Linked DNA regions of Homo sapiens: region 1 is linked to region 2. The links are contacts of gene promoters, found by promoter capture Hi-C in blood cells and fetal thymus (Javierre and others, 2016). All regions are on one chromosome and are shown on one strand. The core of a region is centred on a gene start or on the middle of the fragment in contact, and the rest is flanking DNA. Distances in the headings are between cores, read along the strand shown.

Region 1 (5,743 bases), core at 2,827-5,326, 180 kb before region 2:
TGGTAAACAATCAGGAGGATCTCTGGAATATCCCATCCCTTGGAGGGAGACCCTGGAGGGAGAAGCAGGCCAAGGGCCCTCTGGCAGCCTAGACTCACTTTGCACAATAGCCAGAGTATGCATCTTGGGGCTGTCCTTCTGGGGAAAAGACAGACCTTAAGACTGTCTTAAGGCCAACCTCCCAATGTTGGTTTCTTTCTTTCTTTTTTTTTTTTAAATTTTATTATGAAAATTTTCGAACATACATACAAAAGTAGAAAAAATAATATAATGAACACCCATGTAGACCCATCACCCAGCTTCAACAATTGTCAACTGGTGGCCAATCTTGTTTCATCTATATATACCCCCACCCAGATTATTTTAAGGCTAATTCCCAAAGCCAATAAATTTTTCCCATAAATATTTATGTATTTATGTCTAAAAGAAAAGAATCCTTTAAAAAGTATATCTGCAATGCCATTATCACACCTAAAAGAAATTAATAGAAATTCCTTAACAGCATCCACTATCTAGTCAGGATTTACTTTCCCTAATCCACACTTAGTTTTTCTAGTTATGTTCCTACTCATGGGGGCAGGGAGATGAACATTTGACAGAAGACTATTATATCAGCCAATATAAGAATTTGTGGTCTCTGCTCTGTAGCACTCTCTGATGGTTCTATCCATGTGTGTTTTGCATGGAATCTAATTGGATTACAAATTCTTCAGGGCAGGGACTGACATTACTGTCTTTTTTGCACCCTAGTATGGCAGAGAGGAAGAAGCACTGATCTCAACTAATTAGCTGTGTGACTTTGGGAAGGTTATTCAACCTCTCTAAGATAATAGGAATAAAAATACACATCTCCCAAGAATCGTAAGGCTTAAAGAAAAGGTGAATGTGCTCGGCATGTAGAAGTTTCTTAGTAAATGCTCATCTTGCTTTACTCTCTGTTTTGACCACTTTTCAGTTCCTCACATGGAGTGAAGGCCACCGTCAGTGAGGGCTGCAGCCAGGCCAGCAGCCTGGAGTCCACCTGCCCCCAGCACGGTGCTGTGTCTGTGGTGTTGGTGGTCCCCACTCTGAGCACCCAGGGGTTGCTTGTTTACTCGGGCCACTCATTAAACTGACAGGTGAGGCTTGCACAGCCCTCAGGAAACTGAGGGAAGAGAGGGGCTGGACAGGAGTAGAGATTTGCTTTCGGCCCACTTCACCGGTTTCTGGGTTCCTTGACTCAGATGAAGTAATAATTTCATAGCTGGCCTTGACTGAGTGTTTATGACACGCCAAGCTCTGTGCTAAGTGCTCTACCGCAGCACCGCTTTTAGTGTTCACAACCCTGTGAGATGGGTACTACTATCCATATTTTGTAGGTGATGAAACTGAGGCTTAGATTAGGTAACTTGTGACTTACACAGAGACACCATTACTCAAACCAGGTTTTTCTAATACTTAAATCCAAGTTCTTGGCCACACACTCACTATTTTGTTAATGGTGCCAAAGAAGCCACCTTCTAGGGTTCATTCTCACCCAGATTTACAGAGATGACTTCTGCCCAGGCTCAGCATGCACCCCGAACTCCAGCCAGCCATTATGCCAATGTACGTCCCTGGACAGGGTGAGGAAGAGTGAGGGGATCAGAACAGCCTACATCCACAAGGGAAAACCGGACCTAAAGGCATCTCCTTACATCAAGGATGTACACACAAACACACACACCACTTCTATTTCTTGACTCGGGCTCTGTCCGCAGAACCAAGTGTGGACCTGGCAGGGGTGAGAGAGGTGAGGCAGGGGAGGAGACACTTGTCACGGTATTAACTGGCTGAATAAAAAGTCTATGATAGTGAAATTTCCAGGAACAGGAGAATCCTTCACACTCTTGCTTGTGATTAGACTGCTTTGTTTGACTTCAGCCTCAGGAGTACCTTTCTGAGCACTGGAAGCTACCGGACACAAGGCAGTCATGGGCCCAGAGCCTGCGACTGGGAGTGGGGAAGAGCAGAGTCAACGATTTCCAAGGGTGCCAAAGCCTTTGGCTGCATTTCATTTCTTTCTGTATGATTCCTGATAGCTGTGTTGGGGTACCGGGCCCTCACAGTAAGTGCTACCACTTTTTCTGTAAATGTTTTGGTTTTATTTATCATTATCATAGCTGCATCTGGGGCAACCACCTTGTGCATACAGGACAATAAATTCCTGAGCCTCCTGGCTTCCCTCCTTCCTCCCTCCTTCTCCCTCTTCTTGGCAAAGGCTTAAACATAGGTGGTGGGGCGGGGGGGGGCGGTAGGGACAGAGACAGAGTTCCAGCTCCTCTTTGCTTCACCCCCTTCCCTCCTCCTCCCTTCTTTCCCATTGCTACACTAAAGGAGTCAGGGCTGTGTCCACCAATATGCTCTGTGACTAGCAGTCAACACAATTTCATACCCAGCCAGTCATTCCGCAGGCATTTTGGATGATAATGTTCCCATTCTCAGTTCCTCTGTGAGAATGTGCATGTCATTTGAAGCTCTGTGCCTCAGTTTCCATAGAAGTAAAACAAAAAGCAAGAATTGAGACTGATCTTTTTCTTGCAAGAATTCACAAGTAATGGATAATGTACAAGAGATGTGGCTGAATAAGAGAACTAGAACAAAGACTTGAACAATTTTCCTATGCAACACTCTTTCCCATGGACAAAGGTATCCCACAAAGTCATACTTCATCGGAGGCTAGTTTGTCCAAAGAAAACTCACATACCAATGCAATAGTGACAAAAAAAAAATTCCTCCATGCCAACTCAGGAAAACAGAAAGCAAGTTGTGCTTAAGCCCATTGTAGGTGTGGGCAGATGCTTCCAAAACCGTCACCCCTTTTCCCTCCTCTATGACTATCTTCAACCCCCAGCAAAGCGGCCTCGCCAGCTGCTAAAGGGTTAATTACCAAAAAGAGGGCATGCTCCCTCCAGAGGCTCCTCTGGAGAGTGCAAAAACAAAACAAAACCAAAAACCAACTAACCACAACAAAAAACATCTTCCCTGGGAATAAATTTGAAGCTTATCAGGTCTTTAAGCCACATTTCCCAGCCCATAGACTCCTGGTCCCTGTCTCCCTTTGCTTTGGGAAACTCATTTACCCCCAAGCCTCCTGAAATGATCCATGTGCCGTGAGATGCCCATAGGGTTGGGGACTTGAAAATGAGTTATTCTCCCACAAAAAATGGCTTAGCTTTGTCTTTTTGGGTGGCTGACAGGAGACATAAAGTATCACTCTCTCTTTTTACCCCTCCTCACAATAGGATGGAATGAGTGTGGAGAAAAACAAAGGTATTGTGGGACCAGGATGGAGTCAACTTGACAATGGACTCTTCAAGGACACCTTCCAGCTCCCATTCTACTAGTAGCTCTATTTGATTTTGTGGGATGTTGTGTTCCTCCAACATATCCGACTTCTGCTTATAAAACAGAAATTAGGAGTAAGAGATTCGCACCGCTAGTTCAGTGGATAATCATCAGTTCTGAAGCATTAAAATCCTTTGCCAACAAGAACGTTTCTTCTAAGGAAGGAAGCATCCTAATCATGAAGCCAGGGTCTCCAGCCCTCCCCTGTCTCCCTCCTCCCCTCCAGGGCTGTGCTCACTCACATCCATGGACATCTCCCTCTGCATAAGTTTCTTGGTCTCCTTTTCACAGAAGTTGAGCATGGCCTCCCGGTTGTACACACCCGTGGACTGTTTCTCCGTCTGGTTTCTCTGCCGCAGCCCCACGGGAACACTCCCGTCTGGGTCCACCACGTCCAGCTCCTTCTCCAGCTCCTCCATCTCCTCGGGAGACAGGGTCTCCAGCAGGCTGTCGATGTCGGGGTCTTCACTCACCTGCCGGCGATATTTGGCTACTCTAGACATCTTGGCAAAATGGGCTGTGGCTGCCAGGGGCTATCAGAGTCCTGGTGGGCAGGGAAGGGAGAGGGGTGAGCTGATCTGGATGCAGCGAGTGGGCTGAGGAGCAAACCTCCTGCTGGTCGAGGACTGCAGCTCCTTGGCCCTTCTGTGCTACAGGTGCTGAAGTGTTCACTGGACGCAGCAGCCTCCCTGAAGCCCAGGGCTAGTGGACCCCGGCTGGTCTAATCAGCGGCCAATAAGACCCGACAACTGCCAGGCCCGGAGAGGAGAAGCCAATCCCCAAGCTGGGGGCGGGCCTACCTCGCTGTCAGAGCTGTTTGAAACTTGAGGACATTCCAGGGAATCTTGGAGCGCTGCGTGACCAAATTTAGTACAGAGCAGTTTAGCCTTTTAAAGACAAGGGGCCACGCAATGAGAAAAAGATACAAAAATGCGTAGGCTGGCAGAAGCAGATCACAGCCACGGAGAGCCAGACAAGCAGGGACGAGGCCATGAGGGCCGGTGAACTCGCCAGCCCGGGGCACGTTCAAGAGCGTATTTTACTACTCCATCACCGGGTGGACGTATCACTGTGGTCAATGTGTGGTTCATGGACTTCCTTCTACAGTATTTGGTAATGTGCTGGGGGGCTCCCAGGTGTATACAGCTCCAGGAAAGTCTAGATTCAAGATGAGGAGCTGTTACTCCTAACCCCCTGCCTACCCATTTTCTTTCTACCCAGGTTCTGCCAAGGAGGACCTGAAGGCTGAGCATCAGAGGCTCCAGGATCCTTTGGCCACTTCTTAAGAGAGAGACAGGAGACAGAAAGACAAACTTAGAGATAGAGATAGCTAGGCAGGAGAGGGAGAGAGAGAGAGAGAGAGAGAGAGAGAGAGAGAGAGAGAGAGAATAAATCCTTACTGTGTACCAAAACTGAAAACTGGCAGGCTGTTTGGGAAAGAGAGAAGGATCTGCAGAAGTCGGGAAACTCTTAAAGGGCTGTCACTTTCCATGAAGTTCCAAGGCTCTTGGGAAGAGGGTTCAAACCTCCCCCTGTTGTCATCTGTTTCTTCCTCTGCCGGGCATCTGTAGACAGACCTCCTTTGGGAGCACAGAGGCAGGTCACCACCCACATATAAATCCAGAGCACGATTTAGTATGTCTTCAGGGAAACAGAATTCTGGGCCGTCGGGAGAGATACGATTGCAACAGGTCTGGCATGTTTCATAGAAGGGCTTTCCACTGCTCATCCATCATGCTGCCCTGCACAAGTCACAGAGACATTCAATCCCCTGCCCCCCTTCCTCCTGCCACAAAATCCCTTCTAGAAGCCCTGGTGTAACCCATCAGGGTAGATGCTTCGATCTTTCCTGGCATCTTTCCATCCTAAGCCAGAGAGAGACAGTCACTTGATCAGCATTTGCTGAGTCCAGGGATCGTCTGGGACTAAAACTTGGCCGTGCCATTTAATGTCCACTAGTCCAACTTTAGGTTAAGGCTGAAGAGGGGAATGGTGTCCACTGGGGGGACTGAAGGGCAGAAGGAAGGCAGGCAGACTTGATAGGAAGAGTGGAAGAAGACTTTAGGGAAACCTGGGGGTTGTCATTTTAAGAGTCAGTAGCCAACTTATTGGTCAAACCGTAGGTATATATTTATTGAGTGATTTATCAAGTGCCTATTATATATCAGGCATTGTTCTAAGAGCAAGAGATATCACTAAAGATACAAAATCAGGCCAGGTGCAGTGGCTCATGTCTGTAATCCCAGCACTTTGGGAGGCCAAGGCAAGAGGATTGCTTGAGTCCAGGAGTTCAAGAACAGGCTGGGCAACATAATGAGACCCCCATCTCTCCAAAAAAAAAAAAAAAACAAAATTAGCCTGATGTGGTGGTGAGCAT
Region 2 (4,951 bases), core at 2,090-4,589:
AAATAAAATAAAATAAAATAAAATAAAATAAAATAAGAAGCAGAAGGTCAGGCAGGGTGTGTGCACCTGTAGTCCTAGCTACTCTGGAGGCTGAGGTGGAAGGATTGCTTGATCCCAGGAGTTCAAGTCTGCAGTGAGTATGATCATGTCACTGTGCTCTAGCCTGGGCAATAGAGCAGGACTCTGTCTCTGAATTTTTTTTTTTTTAAAGAGCAGAGAACTAACATTTATTCTGCTCACACGTACCAGCCCTGGGCTTGGGTCCATACTGTATTGGCACGTGCCTGTGGAGCACTGAGGATCCCACAGCAGAGACAGGACTGCCAAGTGCCTGGCCTGGTCACTTGGCTTCTCTGGACTTCCGTTTCCACTCCTGAAAAATAAGAAGGTTGGTGTAGATTATCTCTAGCATCTCTTCCTATGTTAGAATTCTGTGAAGTCACACAAAGGAGTGGTTAAGAGTTTCAGCTTTGGGCTGGGTGAGGTGGCTCACACCTGTATTCCCAGAACTTTGGGAGGCTGAGGCGGGTAAATCACTCGAGCTCAGGAGTTTGAGATCAGCCTGGGCAACATGGCAAAAAGCCTGTCTCTACTAAAAATACAAAAATTAGTCAGGTGTGGTGGTGCACATCTGTGGTCCCAGCTACTCTGGAGGCTGAGGTGGGAAGATTGTTTGAGCCTGGGAGGCTGAGGTTGCCGTGAGCCAAGATCATGCCACTGCACTCCAGCCAGGGCAACAGAGCCAGACCCTGTCTCAAAAAAAAAAGAGTTTTAGCTTTGGAGTTGGACAAACCTACATTTGGATCCCAGCTGTCATTCACTAGCTGTGTGTTCTTAGGAAAGTTGCCTTACCTTTCAGAGTCTAGGGTAATAATATAAAGATTAAGTGACAATTATAGCAAGCATTTAGCACAGAGTGTGGCACTTGGTGAGTGGTGATGCTGCAGATGATGGATGATTCTAGTTACCCAAATCCCCAAATAGCACACCTCTCATCTCCTCTCCTCTCCCCTCCCCTCCCCTCCCCCAACTTCCTTTCCTTTTCTCTTTCTTTTTTGATGGAATCTTGCTCTGTCGCCCAGGCTGGAGTACATTGGCCGCAATCTCAGCTCACTGCAACCTCCGCCTTCCGGGTTCAAGTGATTCTCCTGCCTCAGCCTTCTAAATAGCTGGGATTACAGGTGCCTGCCACCACGCGTGGCTAATTTTTTTTTTTTTGTATTTTTAGTAGAGACGGGGGTTTCACCATGTTGGTCAGGCTGGTCTTGAACTCCTGACCTTGTGATCTGCCCACCTCAGCCTCCCAAAGTGCTGGGATTACACACATGAGCCACTGCGTCTGGCCCTTTTTTTTTTTTTTTTTTTTTTTGAGACAGAGTCTTGCTCTGTTGCCCAGGCTGGAGTGCAGTGGCATGATCTCGGATCACTGCAACCTCTGCCTCCTGGGTTCAAGTGATTCTGATGCCCTAGCCTCCCGAGTAGCTGGGATTACAGGTGTGCACTGCCACATCTGTCCAATTTTTGTATTTTTAGTAGAGATGGGGTTTCACCATGTTGTCTGGGCTGGTGAAGGTGGTAGGTTTCAATGACAGCAGCATAATGCCGTGGGAGTTGGGAGGAGGGAATGATCTGACTCACTCTGGGGCAGGTCTTCGAGTTAATTCTCCAGTGGATTCTCCTAGGCATCGTGTGGTCCGTCCTCAGAACTGTGCCTCCCTAATGTGGCTGAGTGGATTCACTACCCACCCCATGCTTGGGCTCTGCCTCGACCTCTCCCTCCCATGCACAGCCAAAGCCGCTCAAAGCTGCTGGTTTTCCTTGACTCTGGGCTTCTCTCCATCACCCACTGCCTCCCAACAGAACCCCCGGTCTCTGCATCCTCCTGTTCCAGATTGCTAGGACCCCAGCTGCCCATCAGGGACCCCTCTAAAATAACTTAGTTGAGTCATTGTTTGCCTACTTAACAACCTGTGATATTCTCCATTGCTTATGGGATAAAATCTAAACTCCTTGGCTTGGCATACAAAGTCCTTTACAGTCCAGTTCCTCCTCTGCTGATATTTCCAAGCTCTTTGTCCCAAGTGCCCATGCTCTCTCCCCACCTCCCTTGCACTCTAGTCCCCTCGACAGACTTGCTCTCTTGCGGGAACATCACCCACTTCCACATCACCCAGCCTTTGTGTGTGCTGTGTCTTCTGCCTAGAGCACCCTCCCTTCCCGTAGTCTGTCAGGCAAGCTCACAGCCATTTCTCGGGATCCATTCAAATGTCACCTCGCTTGGGAGGCCTTCCAGATCCCCCCCAGATTTTCTTGGGTTCCCTCAGCATCATGACCTTTGCCTTTCATAGCATCTATCATGCTGAACTTACACATTTACTTCCTTCTCTGGACTGAAAGCTCATTGGTGGCAGAGATCCTTTACATTTTTGTATTCTGAGTGTCTGGAACACAACACGTAGTCAGTAAAGACGTGTTATTGCAAATGTCCACACATCTTGTGTCTGGCTCAGAATATGGTGTTTTAGGCCGGGTGCGGTGGCTCCCAGCACTTTGGGAGGCTGAGGCAGGCGGATCACCTGAGGTTAGGAGTTTGAGACCAGCCTGGTCAACACGGTGAAACCCTGTCTCTACTAAAAATACAAAAATTAGCCGGGTATGGTGGCGGGCACTACAGTAACTGTAATCCCAGTTACTCAGGGGGCTGAGGCAGGAGAATCACTTGAACCCAGGAGGCGGAGGCTGCAGTGAGCCAAGACCGCGCCATTGCACTCCAGCCTGGGCAACCGAAAAAAAAAAAAAAATTAGAAATCTCTGGAGTCAGATCTGGGTTGTGGGCCTTGCTCTGCCTTGTATCAACTATGTGGCAAGTGACTGACCTCTACAAACCTCAGATTTGTGATCTGAGATTAATCAAGGGTTAATTGAGAAACCAGCTGAGTGCTAGCACCTAGTAAGTGTTCAGTAAGTGACAGTGATGGTTATTGCTGAGTTTTGAATGGAGGAGCTGCCTTAGAATCAGGAGACCTGCGCCCCAGTTCCCATTCTGCCCCACCTCCCTGTGTCACCCTAGGCAGGCCACATTTCCTCCCTAGTTTCAGGGGCCTGAAGCAGATGCCCTCTTAGGGCCCCACAGCCTGACATGCTGTAGGGCCTGAGAAGCGGCGTCGTGGAGGACGAGATGTGTGAGGGCAGCAAAGAGTGCTATGTGTCCAGCAGAGGGCCCTGCCCGGCCTGTGGCCGGAGGCTGGGAGGGAGGGCAGGCGAGTGATGCCAGACGCCTGACTGGAGGCGGATCCAGCCGGCCAGCTGCCTCTCTGGAGCCCAGCTCTTGGGCCCCCTGCACTCACCTGCTCTTCCTGGGCTGGCTGTCTCCTGCTCATCCAGCCATGCGGTGGCTGTGGCCCCTGGCTGTCTCTCTTGCTGTGATTTTGGCTGTGGGGCTAAGCAGGGTCTCTGGGGGTGCCCCCCTGCACCTGGGCAGGCACAGAGCCGAGACCCAGGAGCAGCAGAGCCGATCCAAGAGGGGCACCGAGGATGAGGAGGCCAAGGGCGTGCAGCAGTATGTGCCTGAGGAGTGGGCGGAGTACCCCCGGCCCATTCACCCTGCTGGCCTGCAGCCAACCAAGCCCTTGGTGGCCACCAGCCCTAACCCCGGCAAGGATGGGGGCACCCCAGACAGTGGGCAGGAACTGAGGGGCAATCTGACAGGAGCACCAGGGCAGAGGCTACAGATCCAGAACCCCCTGTATCCGGTGACCGAGAGCTCCTACAGTGCCTATGCCATCATGCTTCTGGCGCTGGTGGTGTTTGCGGTGGGCATTGTGGGCAACCTGTCGGTCATGTGCATCGTGTGGCACAGCTACTACCTGAAGAGTGCCTGGAACTCCATCCTTGCCAGCCTGGCCCTCTGGGATTTTCTGGTCCTCTTTTTCTGCCTCCCTATTGTCATCTTCAACGAGATCACCAAGCAGAGGCTACTGGGTGACGTTTCTTGTCGTGCCGTGCCCTTCATGGAGGTGAGTGTGTGTTCTGTTTGAGCTCTGCTGGGAGGCTGCAATCCAGGGAAGGGACTCAAAGTCTCCATCAGGTCTTTGGAAATGGAATTTGTGGGTGTGCAAAACCTGAGTCTTGGAGCTCTGACTTGCTCCTCCTTTACCTTGGAGAAGGAGACAAATACGGTATTGGTTTCTGGTTGCTCTCAAGAGAAGTAGGCAGGCCAGGGGGACAGGCGGGTGTGTGGGGCCCCTGGGTTCCAGCCCCAGCCTGATCTTCTGCTTCGGGAGCAACCTCAAGGCAGGCCTTTGCCACTTTCTCCAGACCCTAAGCTGCCCTCTCCCTTCCTCAGCCCTTCTCCCCTGTCCCACCCAAGATACCTCTGTCCTTTGTTGTGACTCCTCTTCTTTCCTCTGTACCCCCTGCCGCTGCCCTGCTCCCACAGCTTCCTTCGCTGCTCCTCCGTCTCCTGCCTCCTGAAGGAGTGCCTGAAGGGAGAGCCCAATTTCCTTCACACCCCTCTGGATCAAGTCAGCATCCACTCCATGAGAATACAAGCACCAGAAGCAAAAGACCGCTCCGTTCTTCCCTCCCTGCTGGGATTCTCATTGTTATCGTTGTCATTTCCATCAGCAACTTCCTAGATCCTCTCTGAAAGGGATACCTGGTTCTGGGCACTGGAACTAATGGGGGGCTCTAGTCTTAGCTCTGCCACTGACATACTGGGCGTCACTGGGCAGGTTGCATTACCTCTCCAATTTCTTTATCTCCCAACCAGGGCGGGTAGACCAGATGGTCCTTCCAGCTGGCCTGTTTCACAGTTCTAAAGTATACCACTATGCCCTTACTTCTGGTAGCGTCTACGATAAGTCCATGGGTGTCAAAGGATATGTAGAGCATAGAGAGACAACTTAAAACACTGCAGAAACATACTGATGTGTGCATTTATGCAAGACAC

What was found. Contacts are between HindIII fragments. The CHiCAGO score rates a contact against its expected background, and 5 or more counts as called.
Region 1: a contact is called between the fragment with the promoter of LMOD1 here and the fragment with the promoter of GPR37L1 in region 2, in 1 of 17 cell types (erythroblasts). The highest score is 6.5, in erythroblasts.

Annotation. Positions count from the first base shown.
Region 1 is chr1:201,942,472-201,948,214 of GRCh38, forward strand. LMOD1 (leiomodin 1) reads right to left here and starts at 4,077. Exons shown (of 3, transcript NM_012134.3): 1 at 3,609-4,077. The coding sequence starts at 3,869. The HindIII fragment of the contact is 4,460 bases long and covers 3,020-5,743 here.
Region 2 is chr1:202,119,578-202,124,528 of GRCh38, forward strand. GPR37L1 (G protein-coupled receptor 37 like 1) reads left to right here and starts at 3,340. Exons shown (of 2, transcript NM_004767.5): 1 at 3,340-4,016. The coding sequence starts at 3,387. LOC105371683 (a long non-coding RNA gene) reads right to left here. Exons shown (of 3, transcript XR_922422.3): 2 at 4,374-4,481; 3 at 4,010-4,156. The HindIII fragment of the contact is 24,323 bases long and covers 1-4,951 here.